Regions from separate parts of the Homo sapiens genome. Here region 2 is linked to region 1. Evidence: promoter capture Hi-C in human tissues and cell types (Jung and others, 2019). All regions are on one chromosome and are shown on one strand. The core of a region is centred on a gene start or on the middle of the fragment in contact, and the rest is flanking DNA. Distances in the headings are between cores, read along the strand shown.

Region 1 (6,622 bases), core at 2,788-5,287:
CACTTTTGTTGGTGGCACCAGTTTTATTCTCTTGGACACCTAAGCTCAAAAACAGTGGAACTTCTTTTGACTCATCGCTCTCCTTCCTTCCCTAGAAGTGAGCTACCATTTAAAAGTGATGTGCTCATTCTCAGCAAACTATCCCAAGGACAAAAAAATAAACACCGCATGTTCCCACTCATAGGTGGGAATTGAACAATGAGAACACATGGACACAGGAAGGGGGACATCACACACCGGGGCCTGTTGTGGGGTGGGGGGAGGGGGGAGGGATAGCATTAGCAGATATACCTAATGTAAATGACGAGTTAATGGGTGCAGCACACCAACATGGCACATGTATACATATGTAACAAACCTGCACGTTGTGCACATGTACCCTAGAACTTAAAAGTATAATGATACAAAAAAAGTGATGTGCTATCATCAGTCACCCGAGAAATGCAAATTAAAACCACAAGGAGTGCCCTTATGCACCCACTAAAATCGAGCAGACTGAAGGTGCTAACTGTTGCCTGAGGATATGGAGTCTCACACATTGCTGGGGAAATATAAAATGGCCTGGGCATTTTGGAAACCAGTTTTGGTTAACAGTAAATTAAATGTACACTTACCACATGACTCAATAATTCTACTCTTAGGATTTACTCAAGGAAAATAAAAACATATGTCCACACAAAGACTTTTTCACAAATGTGCATATCAGCTTTATTCATAATAGGCATAAGATAGAAACATCCAAATGTCCATCAATGGGTGGAAGAATAAAGTGTGGTTTACCCATGTAACAGAATACTAGCAACAAAGAGGAACTGCTGTTACCTGCAAGCAATGGATGAATCTCAAAATTATGTTAAACCAGAGAAGCCAGACACAAGAGAATACATACTATATGATTCAATTTCTGTGAAATTCCATTTCTACAAAAAGCAAAACTTACTCATAGGGGCAGAAAGTAGACCAGTGGTTCTCTGGGGCTGGGTCAGGGAGAGAGCAGCTGACTGCACGGGGCATGAGAGGGTGACGGCAAAGTTCTGCACCCTGAATGTGATGATGGTTATGCCCGTGTACACATTCACCAAAAACCAGCAACCTGTACACTTAAAGTGGGTGTGTTTTATATATAACTTATACTTCAGTAAGTGTCAGCACAGATAGGCTAAGCCTCTTCTGAGATGTAACACAGGTAGACAGGAGTATCAGTGCTGACTGGCCAACTATCTTTAAAATATTTTATTAAGCTATAAATAATACGGAGTTGAAATAGCCAGGACTTACAGTGTACTTACTACATGCCAGGTACTATTCTAAGAGTTTCCACATATTGGTTAGACCTCACAACAACTCTCCAAGATACTAACGATTACCCCATTTTATAGATGAAGAAACTGAGGCATAGAAAGTTTAAGTAATTTAGAAAAGCCATATATACGGTAAAAAAATTTTTGGCTCCAGGGAGCTTCCTCTGAACTACTATGCCACAATACTTCTCATTAGGACAATTTTGAAATAGACACACTCCTTCCTCCATAATTTCATCTCCTCTACAAAAAATATTTTCACGTTTGCATATTTTATTCAGGCTTTGCCAACATGCATATGCATTTTAACTACTCCATAATCATAGTTTAGACACAGAGCAAGAGGAAGCCATTCCAAGCAACAGACGAGTCTAATTTTGCTCTCTGAAAAATAAGCATTTTTTTAACTTATGAACATTTCTCATTCATTCACATTCTTTCATAATGATCTATTTTAATGGCTTTGTTTGAAATACCATATTATATTGTATTCATTTCCTTTATTATTGGAATAGATCATTAGTAGAGATAATGCTGTAATGAGCATCTTCATGGAATGCACAGAGCTTATTTTTTTTCCATGTGGAATCTTTTATGTAGGAATCATTCCCAGGAGCGCAGCTGCTGCCCCATATAAGAAAGGGCCTCTGGCCTCGATAAAGCAGCAGCTCTTATACCAGTATGAATGAGCTACTGTCCAATTTGCTAGTGCCTGAGACTGGTCCAGACTCCAGCCCATTCATGGTCTTGAGGGCCCTAGGAAGACCACAGCAATTCCCGCAGCTCTCCTTTGGGAGTCAGGGGGACCTGTTACCGAAATCAGTCCTTGTGCCAATTAAAAGTACCACAGGCTGCCAGAAATTTCCATCTAGTTTTCTACTATCACTCAACATTCTTCCTGTGACTATAACTCCTCTCTTACATTCCCTGTCATCAGCCTTGCCCAGGCTTTCCTAATCTCTTCCCTAGATGAGTGTGTTTTCCAGTTGGCCTTTTGTGATTTGATTCCCCTCTCTTCCAATGGATGATCTGACACAAGGGCTGTCAAGCATGCTTGTTACTGTAGGGCAGTGCTTACTGTTTTCACAGCATGGAACCCACAGAAAATGTTACAATATGAGTAACTCACAGGGATAAAGGGTTGAGATTGCTCCCTACTGAAGGTGCCCGGCCCAGTGCTTCGGGCCACCCTAGGCCCTACCTACCTTCCTCAGGGGTTAAAGCAGTGGTTCTCAGTGCTAGCTGCACATTAGGATTACCTGGGAGCTTTCAAAATTATTTTGCCTGTGCTGCACCCAGGAGTAACAACATACAGCCAAGGTTAAGAACCTTTTTAGCTAAATGGTTATCTGTTTATCCTCAGTTACCGCCACAGCTTATCCTTCTACTACAGTGCCTCCTGAGTAATGGGCACACCGTACAGTATTATTATTGATTATTATTAGTATTAGAGACAGGCTCTCCCTCTATCATCCAGGCTGGAGTGCAGTGGCACCATCATGGCTCACTGCAGCCTCGACCTCCTGGGCTCAAGCGGTCCTCCCTCAGCCTCCTGAGTAGCTGGGATCACAGGTGTGCACCACCACACCTGGCTAATTTTTTTTTTTTAAATAATTAGTGTAGACAGGATCTCATTGTTGCCTACGCTACTCTCCAACTCTTGGGCTCAAGCGATCCTCCCGCCTTGGCTTCCCGAAGTGCTGGGATTACAGACGTGAGCCGCAGCGCCCGGCAGAATACAGAAGTAATAAACTAAGGTCAAGGCCATGTACTGAGGTGTTCAAGGCTCTGAACTGCTGGACTCAATGTCACAAGATAAATTTTAACCTCACCAAACCCTCTCAGCTTAAGAGTATCTGCTAAGTTCTGAGAAAGCAAACGGGGCGTGTGAAAAGATGGGTGTTCATGCCTGTGTGTATGTGGGGTCGGTGATGCAGTTAAGGACAGAACCCAGGGGAGGACTCCGGGACGGGGGAGGCGGCTGAGATTTTAAGGCGGGCCGGGTGTGCTGCAGCCAGCACTGCCGGAGAATCGCTGGGAAACGGCTCCAGCAGGAGAATGGAGGGTGGACGGCCGGCCGCAAAGGCGGTGGAGGTGTTGGCCCGCCCCTTCCCTCCTGATAACACCGACGTGCGTGTGGGGTCCACGGAACGCCCCACCAAGCCTCGCCTGGCGCGGGGTCGAGGGGCTCGGCGGAGGCGCGTGTTCAGGTGGAGGCGGTGGGCCCGGGCTGCGGCCCTTCGCTCGATTTTATTTATTTATTTATTTATTTATTTATTTATTTTTGAGACGGAGTCTCGCTGTGTTCCCCAGGCTGGAGTGCAGTGGCGAGATCTCGGCTCATTGCAACCCCTGCCTCCCGGGTTCAAGCGATTCTCCTGCCTCAGCCTCCCGAGTAGCTGGGACCACAGGCGTCCGCCACCACGCCCGGCTAATTTTTGCATTTTTAGTAGAGAAGGGATTTCACTATATTGGCCACGCTGGTCTCGAACTCCTGACCTCGTGATCCGCCCGCCTCGGCCTCCCAAAGTGCTGGGATTACGGGCGTGAGCCACCGCGCCCGGCCCCTTCGCTCGCTCTTACCCGGTGAGGTCCCGTGCCCGCGTACCTCCCGCATGACACTTGGGCGTGCGGCCGAGCCGGGAGCGCCCCTGCCCCGCGAGCCGCCCCCGAGAGACACGGCGGATCGGAACCCAGCCGGGCGCGTAGCTCCGGGAAGGGGACGTGGCGAGGACCCGGCAGCCGCGGGGCCTGTGGGGAAACATGGTCCCCGCAAGGGACCCTGGGAGCTGGAGGCGTCCTGGCCCGGCGTCCGGAGCCCACGGCCCAGGACTAGGATGCCGGGGGTCTCGGGCGTCCTCCCTAACCTCAGTCATAGGGCGCTCCGTATCCAGCCCGCCCTGCTTGCCTCTCGCTTCCCCCAAATACTGCCCCGACCTGTCCCCTGGCCCTCACCAAGACAGGGAGAAACGACCGAGACACTGAGGACTCCGCTAACAGCTGCCTGAGACCCAACCCCTCCACTCCCTGACCAGGATGAGGGAGTCCGCGCCATGCGCATGCACACACGCGGGCCTCTCCTCCTCCCACCTTTTGCGCGTCTCGCCCGGGCATCGAAGGAAGGGAATGACGGCGCGACGGCGACCCCTAGGGGCGGGAGGAGGCGCTAGGAGCGGGGCTGGGAAGCGCCATGGTGCAGGTTGAACGGGGACATTGGGTCACCGGGATGGGTGGAATTAGGGTAGGGCGAGTGAGGCACTGGCTTCTGGCACAGAATTTAAGGAGACACCCCAAAATTTAGTAATCAGGATACACAGACTGAGCGCAGTGGCTCACGCCTGTAATCCCAACACTTTGGGAGGCCAAGGCGGGAGGACTGCTTGAGGCCAGGAGTTAGGGATCAGCCTGGGCAACAAAGCGAGACCCCCATCTCTACAAAAAAAAATTAAAATTTAGCCGGACTTGGTGGTGGGCGCCTGTGGTCCCAGCTACTCAGGATGCTTAAGTGGGAGGATCACTTGAGCCCAGGAGGTTGAAGGTGCAGTGAGCTATGGTGACACCTCTGCACTCCAGCCTGGGCAACAGAGCAAGACCATGTCTCTTAAAAAAAAAAAAAAAAAAAAAAAAAGCTAGACGCGGTGGCTCACGCCTGTAATCCCAGCACTTTGGGAGGGCAAGGGTAGTGGATCAGTTGAGGTCAGGAGTTCGAGACCAGCCTGGCCAACATGGTGAAACTAAAAATACAAAAATTATTCTACTAAAAATACAAAAATTAGCCGGGTATGGTGGTGCACACCTGTAATCCCAGCTACTTAGGAGACTGAGGCAGGAGAATCGCTTGAACCCAGGAGGCAGAGGTTGCAGTGTTGCAGAGGTTGCAGATCATGCCACTGCACTCCAGCCTGGGTGAAAGAGTGAAACCCTGTCTCAAAACAACAACAACAACAACAACAACAACAACAACAACAACAACCACCACCACCCAAAGTATATTATATGCACACCCTACTGAGTTTGATTCCTGGTTCCACCAGTTAATAGCTGTGGGAGTTTGGGCAGTTTGGTGAATCTAATCTCTGTATCTCAATTTCTTCATCTGTAACATGGCAATAATAACAGCACCTACTTACCTCATAAGGTTGCTGGGAAGATTCAAGGAGATAAGCCAAGTGAAGAGCTTAGCACAATGTCTGGCACATGGTGAGTGTTCAGTGAATGTTAGTCAGTTGGTGGCTATGGCAGCCATCTGCTGAGATAGTTCCCAGTGATCCTACTCCTGGTGTTCACACCCTTTTTAGTCCCTTCCCACAATGCACCAGGGTTGGTCTATGTGACCTGTGGAATACTATAGGAGTTTCTTTCTTTCTCTCTTTCTCTCATTCTCTTTCTTTCTTTCCTCTCTCTTTCTTTCTTTTTTTGACAGAGTCTTGCTCTATCACCCAGGCTGGAGTGCAGTGGCACGATCTCGGCTCACTGCAACCTCTGCCTCCTGGGTTCAAGTGATTCTCGTGCCTCAGCCTCCCAAGTAGCTGGGATTACACACACGGCCACCACACCTGGCTAAATTTTGTATTTTTAATAGAGATGGGGTTTTGCCATGTTGGCCAGGCTGGTCTCGAACTCCTGACCTTAGGTGATCCACCCACCTCAGCCTCCCAAAGTGCTGGGATTACATGCATGAGCCACCGTACCTGGCAAGAATTACTTATAATTAGGTTATAAAAGTCATGACAGTGAAAACCTCCCAACTTATTCTGAGGCCAGTATTACCCTACTATCAAAATCAGACAAAGACATCACAAGAAAACTAGAGACTAATATCTCTTATGAATATAGACATAAAAATCCTCAAGAAAATACCGGCAAATAAAATTCAGAAATATATAAAAAGGATAACCAGGTGGGATTTATCCCAGGAATGTACGGTTAGCTTAACTTATGAAAATAAATTAATACACTACATCAATACAATAAAGGAAAACATTATTATTTCAATTGGTGTAAAAACAGCATTTGACAAAATTCAGCACCCTTCATCATAAAAATACTCAGCAAACTAGGAATAGAAGGAAACTCAATTAACGTGATAAAGGGCATCTATGAAAAAACCCACTGCCAACATCATACTCAATGGTGAGAGAATAAAAGCTTTTCCTCTAAGATCAGAAACAAGAAAGGGATGCCCACTTTTGCCACATCTATTCAGCCTTGTACTGGAAGCTCTCACCAGTTCTTGCCTGGAAGCTCTTGCCATGAGGCAAGGAAAAATAAAAAGCAAGCAAATCAGAAAGGAAGAAGTAAAACTATCTCCATTTATAGAT
Region 2 (6,622 bases), core at 2,994-5,493, 430 kb after region 1:
CCATAGTCTATTTGTCATCTTCCTCTCTCTCCTGTCACACCCCCTCCAGCTTGTCATGTGGCACAGTCCTTTTCTGAGCTCATGCACTTCTCAGCTTACCCTGACAATGGCAGTCATGAACACGTGAGTCAACCACTTCTAGCCTGTTGTTTTTTCCTTCAAAGCATAAGGAGGATGTCTCATTTCCTTCCTCTCAGGTTTTGTCAGCAGATAGAGCTTTACTGTAGTTTGCAGTTGCATGAGATGTGTTGCCCTCTATCCAGGGTGCAATGTGGCTTGGTATCACCCATGGACTGACCCCTTCTTGGGTTAATTTACCTATATAACTTTTCTGGAAGGGTGTGACCCTGGCAGCCTACGGAGACCCTGGGAATATCTTCCAGAGGGCCCTGGACCAGGGATGTCTGCCTGGGTGTGAGACAGACAACCTCTCACCCTCCATGTACCTCCTGGGTCAGGGCATGGAAATCTCACAGGCACCCTGCTCCAGGCAGAAGAGGAGGGGGCAGCCTTAGAGGGTGTGGGCAGTTCCCTGGCTCCTGGGGGGACTTCAAACTTATTGCAGACGGAAACCCCTTCTTCCTCATTTTCAGTCCAACCAACACACTTGGTGGCTAGAGAAACTTTACTTCCTGTTTTTATTTATATATTAAATGTTTTCTTTTCATTTTACACAAGATGTGTATTTAAACAACCAGATCCTGGATTTGAAGAAGAACATATCTGGAATCCGTTCTGTTCTTTTAATTGTCACTTAGTCCTGTGTGAGGACAGATTTGTTCTATGTGTAACCGCTACATTTAAAAAGTTATAAAATTGTTCTTAGCGTTACAATGATATATTTTTAAAAATAAAATTTTCTAATTGAACAATGTATGCAAAGGTTATTCCCCCTTTTTTTTTCCTGCCCCCAACAAACCTAAAGGATCACTATATTTTTTATACTGTTGTTGTTAAAGTCCTGGAATATAGAGATAAACAGTGAGTGAGCAGTCCCTGGTGGAGAAAGAGAGTCTTTTTCACAGAAACAGTGTTTTCCCTCAGCTGTCTTCATTGGAAATCACTCAACACCAATGACTCAATGGCCATTGGAAATCAATGATCGTTGTTCATTCAGTACAAACAAACAAGCAAACAAAAATTATCAATATGTTTGTACAGCTACGCCCGATAATTTATGTACAATAAAGGAATGAGGAACAGGAAAGTGAAGAAGAGAGAAAGGGATGCTGGACCAGTAGATGTGATGGAAACATATTGCAATTTTCTACGTGAGAATGTCTGCTTGGTCTGTAGAAACAGAGTTCTGGAGTAAAGCAGTGAGTATGTTCTCAGTAGACCCTCCTGTCTGCTTCTGGAACACATCAACTGAATCTTTGTCCTCCATTTCCAGTTCTGCAGATGTGTCTGTTTCACTGATTGGCCCCAGTCAAAATGGAATCTGATCTGTGTCATGTAGAAACTCTGCCTTTCACCAAAGGCTTTCACTCATTCACTAAGTGGTGTGCACCTCTTCAACATCAACTGCATCCTGGGACCATCCTACCTGCCACCTTCAAATTCTGCCATAGCGGAGCCTGAAGGCTCTTCAGCTGCAGCTTCACCAAAGAAGTCCAGAGTGTGCACCAAACTAGTGAGCCAGCAGCTCCCGATGCCGCAGGTGAAGGAGGCAGCAGAGCCTTACTCGCTGTTTTTATCACCATCCCTCCAGCAACAGCAGCAGCAGCAGCATCCACAACTACTATTTCTAATTGTGGTAATAATGATGATCACACTTAGAATAATGATAAATAACAGTAGTTGTAATTGCTGACATGTTTAGTTTATATATAGATTTATTATTTGTAATGTTCTATAATTTACTTTTAGTAATATACACATTAATTGTGTCATAAATATCAGGACCTCAAAACACCCCACCTAATGAGTGATTCTCACATATGGACCCATGGCTGCCCACCTGCTAGCGTGGGTCCTCTCACCACTCCACCCCCAGAGCTTCGATCTGTCTGGTCAACATTCTGGGACAATGAAGTAGTTAAGTCATATGGTCTGACTGTGGTCTTGGCAAATAGCTTGACTTGTTAGAAATCAAAGGCTGACTTTAAGACGTACTCAGCTGTTTGGCTAAATTGTGGCAGAAAAAAATGTCTTCTCAGCAGATATACCTTTGTATCTCTTGCTTTCAGAGTAAAAGATTGTTTCAGTCACAGTAGTTTGAGTTAATCTGTATTGAAAATCATCAACAGCTTACAAATACTGAAAGGGGACAAAAATAATTTGCAGACACATTGAGTCCATTATAAGTGCTTTCAAATCTCTCCTATAAGAAATGAAAAATAGAATGTTAGGCCTTGATTTCTTAAACTCAGCCTTCAGCCATTTTCCCAAATTATTCTACATGTTTCCAAGACATTTCAGAAGCATTCTCTGGTGGGGATTATTTCCAATTGTGAAGAGTACTAGAAGGATGAGAATCAAAAGGAATCTTTCTTCTATCGCAAAAGAGTCAATCTCCAGGATTTCAAAGGCCTAGGGAAGCTGCTTGAGTTGTGAGGTCCATGGAGGTGCATGGGCTTTGGAGTCAGGCAGAGTTGATCCTGAGTTCCAGCCCAGCCCCTTAGTAGGCCCTAAGGACTCCCGTGGTGCTGTCACAAGCAGTGCTGCCTTTGGGAGCCCCTAACCTCCTGTCTTTTCTCCCTTCAGTGTGGGAAAGGGGTTTGGTCAGCCAGTGGTGTCAGCAGCCCTGTCCCACACCCGTTGTCTACACCTAATCTGGTGGCAGGGAGGCCACAGAGTGCAGCGACTAGAACTGGGTGAGAGGGTGAGAGGCAGCCATGCCCCAGGCCAAGACAAGTGCATGGAATCCTGACTGTCAGCAATCAGGGATGTTTCTGCTTTGGGGAGGGAAGCATTTGTTCCACACGTCTCACTGAATAAGGCACAGAGCCTGATCTGTCCCAAGTGGGAGTTTAACCAAGCTAGATGGCGGCCGAGGGCCCTGGCCCAGTTTGACACCCACCTCCTCTCCCACCTTCTACTCAGCCAGAAGACTAGGAGAATCTACTCAGCCGGAAGACTACGAGGTGCTGCAGCGCCACTAGCTCCAAGACTCCAGAAAAACAGGAATAGGGCATTCTGGCAGGTCAAAGCAGACAGAATACTTGAGCTCAGGAGTTGGCGAACTGACTATTAACCTGTAGCCCCAGTTACTTGGGAGGCTAAGGTGGGAGGATCGCTTGAGCTCAGGAGATGGAGACCAGCCTGGGCAACATGGTGAAACCTCATCTCTACAAAAAATACAAAAATCAGCCGGGCATGGTGGCATGTGCCTGTAGTCCCAGCTACTCAGGAGGCTGAGGTGGGAAGATTGCTTGAGCCCCGGAGGCTGCAGTGAGCCATGACTGCACCACTGCACCAGCCTGGGCAATAGAGTGAGACCCTGTCTCAAAACAAAAGCAAAAACCAGAGGTAGGGCTGAGGAGTCCGTGGCCACAGAGCCTGAGCCAGCACGGCCCAGAGGAACTGAGCTCCCAGCCCTGTCGCTGCCAAGGACCCTTCTTCCCTGAGCTTGAAGGGATTGAGAAGGAGAGACAGACGGACAGTCAGCGGCCCCGTTACCAGTGATGCAGACTCCAGGAGATGCGGGCAGAGTTGTAGATTAGAAGAATAGGCCAGCCCCTCTTCCACGTTCCACCACGGCCCGCAACATCCTCCTGGGACCCCAGCCTGCATGCCCCTATAAGATGCTTTTGCACTGGTTCAGTCTATGTATCATGCGAGGGCCTAATTGAAAACACGTGAATGAAGTGTACGGCCTTCTGTTCCCAGCTGAGGGGCCCCCTCCCACGGTGGCGTTAGCAGTGGGGTACAGTGCGGTAAGAGAGGTGCTAAGGGACGGGATGAGGGTCTTTCTTGCTTTAAAGGTGTCTAAATATACTTCTTCTTAAACTTAATTAGCTAATAAGATGTCTTATACAAGCAGAACCAGGTAAGGGAAAGAGCAAGTGTATTTCAAGTCGCAGCTCACCCCTTAATTAGCTGTAATACCCGCAGCAGGCGGCCCCACCTCAATGAGCCAGTCTCCCTTTCAAAAAAAAAAAAAAAAAAGGCACTAATAATGAGGGGGCGGGGCATGGAGCTTTATCCAATCAGGGGCGCTGGAGTGGAAACCGTCCAATCAGGAGTGAAGCCGGAGAGCAGGGGCGGCTTCCGGGATTTGGCGGGGGCCTTCGTCGGCTCCAGTTAGAGCTCGGGTCTCCTCGCCACAGCTCCGAGTCTTTCGTTCTGGGAGGCCCAGGCGGCTTCGCGTTCTGAGAATAAACAGAACCTCTGTTGCTCTGCGACTTGCAGGCACTGGGAGATTCGTAGCTAAGACGCCAGGGCATCCCGGAAGCTGGGAAATGGTGAGTGTGCGGGGTCGGGGGTCCCCAGAGGGAGGGAGGGCGGTGGTCGGAAGCGGCGGGAACCCGCTGTAGGGGCACCCGGGCCTCCCCGCAGTCAGCCTCGGGGTCTGGGCCCCGAGTCCCAACTGGTGCAGCTCGGCCCTCGGTCCCCTCCGCTGCAAGATGGCGGCCAGGCCGGCAGCCGGGACCCCGCGTGTCCTGTCCCATCCCGACCCCGCAGAGCGACCTCGTCCCTGGCCGGAGCCCTCTCTGGGCAGCTCCGCGTCGCAGCCCCGCGTCTCCCCCAGATTGTGCGGTGAGGACGGGAGCGTCTCAGGGGAGACCCAGGTTCGGTGTGTGGGAAGAAACCGTGCCCTGTGGGGTCCTCAGTCACTACTCCTCTTAAGAATTAAAGGGAGTCACTGTTAAAACGTTGAAGAATTTGAGCAAATAGCGATTTGTGACATGGGAAGCCTGCAGTCCTGGTTTGTGGTTCGGAGATCCCCAGAGGGGCTTGAAGGAAAGGTTTTTATAAGGTGCATGAGGAAGCAGACCAAATTAACCGATGGGTTACAGTTTGTAGTTGCCTTATTTAGACTATGCAGGTGGAGGTGAATTGGAGCTTTGTGGTTCGTTAAGTCTGAATTTTGTTTTCCCCTAAAGTTGTAATTTACAAGAAAAGCATTTGAGTTTGGTTTTGGTTTTTCTCCCTAGAAACCTGGGGCACTATAACCACTTCCGTATAATCGCCTGCTCATTAATCATCTTAACACTGCCCAGGGGAACTGGTTTTCCCCCTGCGCTTTCCTAACGTGTAGCACGCAGAGTCTCAAGTCCACCACTGTGTTCCCCCAGTCTAACTGGGCTTGCAATAAAATATTAAATTTCCAGTTCCTTCCCGACATTTCCAAAGGCCAACTTCCCCTCTCCAGTTCACATTCTTAACTATTGGTCATTTATTGTACATTTCAGACAGTATTTTACTCATTAATCATGATTTCACAGAGCAGTGGATGACACTTTTTTAAAGATTTGTGTTTTTTTGGCATACATTTCACGTGAGAGGAAAGCAGAGAATAAAAAATCCCTGACACTCCACTGCAAAAAAAACTGTGCCTCTTTTTCATTCATCTTCCCCAGGCACAGACACGTTATCGGAAAGAATGTCTTTTGACTTGAGGTTTTGCTTTGGAAACTTTACAGGGCCCTGTATAGCCACCCTCTATCCAGTCTTTTCCTGTTCCTGAATTTCAGAACTGTCTGGGATGACTCAAGATGCCCACAGTGGCCATGTCTCCTGGAGTGTTTAGTGACTGTCAGCCCCAGGTCACCTCCTGTTAGAGGACCGCCCAAGGTATGGAAATGTAGTCCCTCAGGGGAGCAGCTGGATGCCCTGGGGCTGAGAGAAATCTCCTGGGACACCCTTAACCTAAAAAGATAACCCCTTGGGACATAAGGATTTTATTTCTTCAAAGCTAGTTTTCATCCCTTGGAGACACATTGCTGGTCAGCCAATCGTTTGCTGGTATTGAGGGGAAACAGTCACAAATGATTCCTGCCCCCTAGATTCATTCAGATTTGTGAAGGGAGAAAAACTCCCAAAGGACCAAAAAACAAAAACCCCACCCCAGTGAGGTGGTGCAAACTCGGCTGCGGTGTCCATGGGGCACAGTGCAGGATCTGGGAGGATGGTCCCTGAGCATTTTAATGAGCAGTATTGGGGTAGGAGAATGTCTCAAATGATACCGTGACCTGACTTGACACTTGAGCCAGATATGTCTGTATTCCAACAGCATTACCACTCCCTGAGTTTGCTGCCTTAGATTGTTCATTTATTTCTACTTCAGTTTTTCAGTTAGTGTAAATTTCATCAGTAGAGCTTGAAAGATAAAAAACATTTCCAAGGCCATGAAAGGTGGATTTCAGAAAATTAAAATATCAAGTCATACTTCATTGTTAAAAATTCTTACTATCTTTTTTTTCAGCAGAATGAGTGTAGTAAGTTTCTCAGGTTTGTTCTTTTTTTGGGAGTAATTTAAAACAGAATCTCAGGGCTCACCTTTTGGAAATGCTGCCAGGGAAAAGAAACAGAGAAAATCTTTCTTTCATTATTGGCTGTAGAAAGTGAATACATTTTCACAACAACGTGTGGTAAATTGGTGAATTACATAGTTTCATCAAAACATCAGTTTCTTTTTTTTGTAGGGTGAAGAAGTTATGACAGTGGATATCTTTGT

The links. The method cuts DNA at HindIII sites, captures the fragments that hold promoters and counts their contacts. A contact is called where the count stands out against the background at its distance.
Region 2: a contact is called between the fragment with the promoter of ZNF267 here and the fragment with the promoter of ZNF843 in region 1, in 1 of the 25 tissues and cell types used here (H1 embryonic stem cells).

The regions. Positions count from the first base shown.
Region 1 is chr16:31,438,752-31,445,373 of GRCh38, forward strand. ZNF843 (zinc finger protein 843) reads right to left here and starts at 4,038. Exons shown (of 2, transcript NM_001136509.3): 1 at 3,885-4,038. RefSeq lists an enhancer at 3,665-4,460 and a silencer at 3,845-4,054. The HindIII fragment of the contact is 16,324 bases long and covers 1-6,622 here.
Region 2 is chr16:31,869,564-31,876,185 of GRCh38, forward strand. It overlaps ZNF267 (zinc finger protein 267), which reads left to right and starts at 4,244. Exons shown (of 4, transcript NM_003414.6): 1 at 4,244-4,406. The coding sequence starts at 4,404. RefSeq lists an enhancer at 4,065-4,359 and silencers at 4,246-4,295, 4,446-4,525. The HindIII fragment of the contact is 15,903 bases long and covers 1-6,622 here.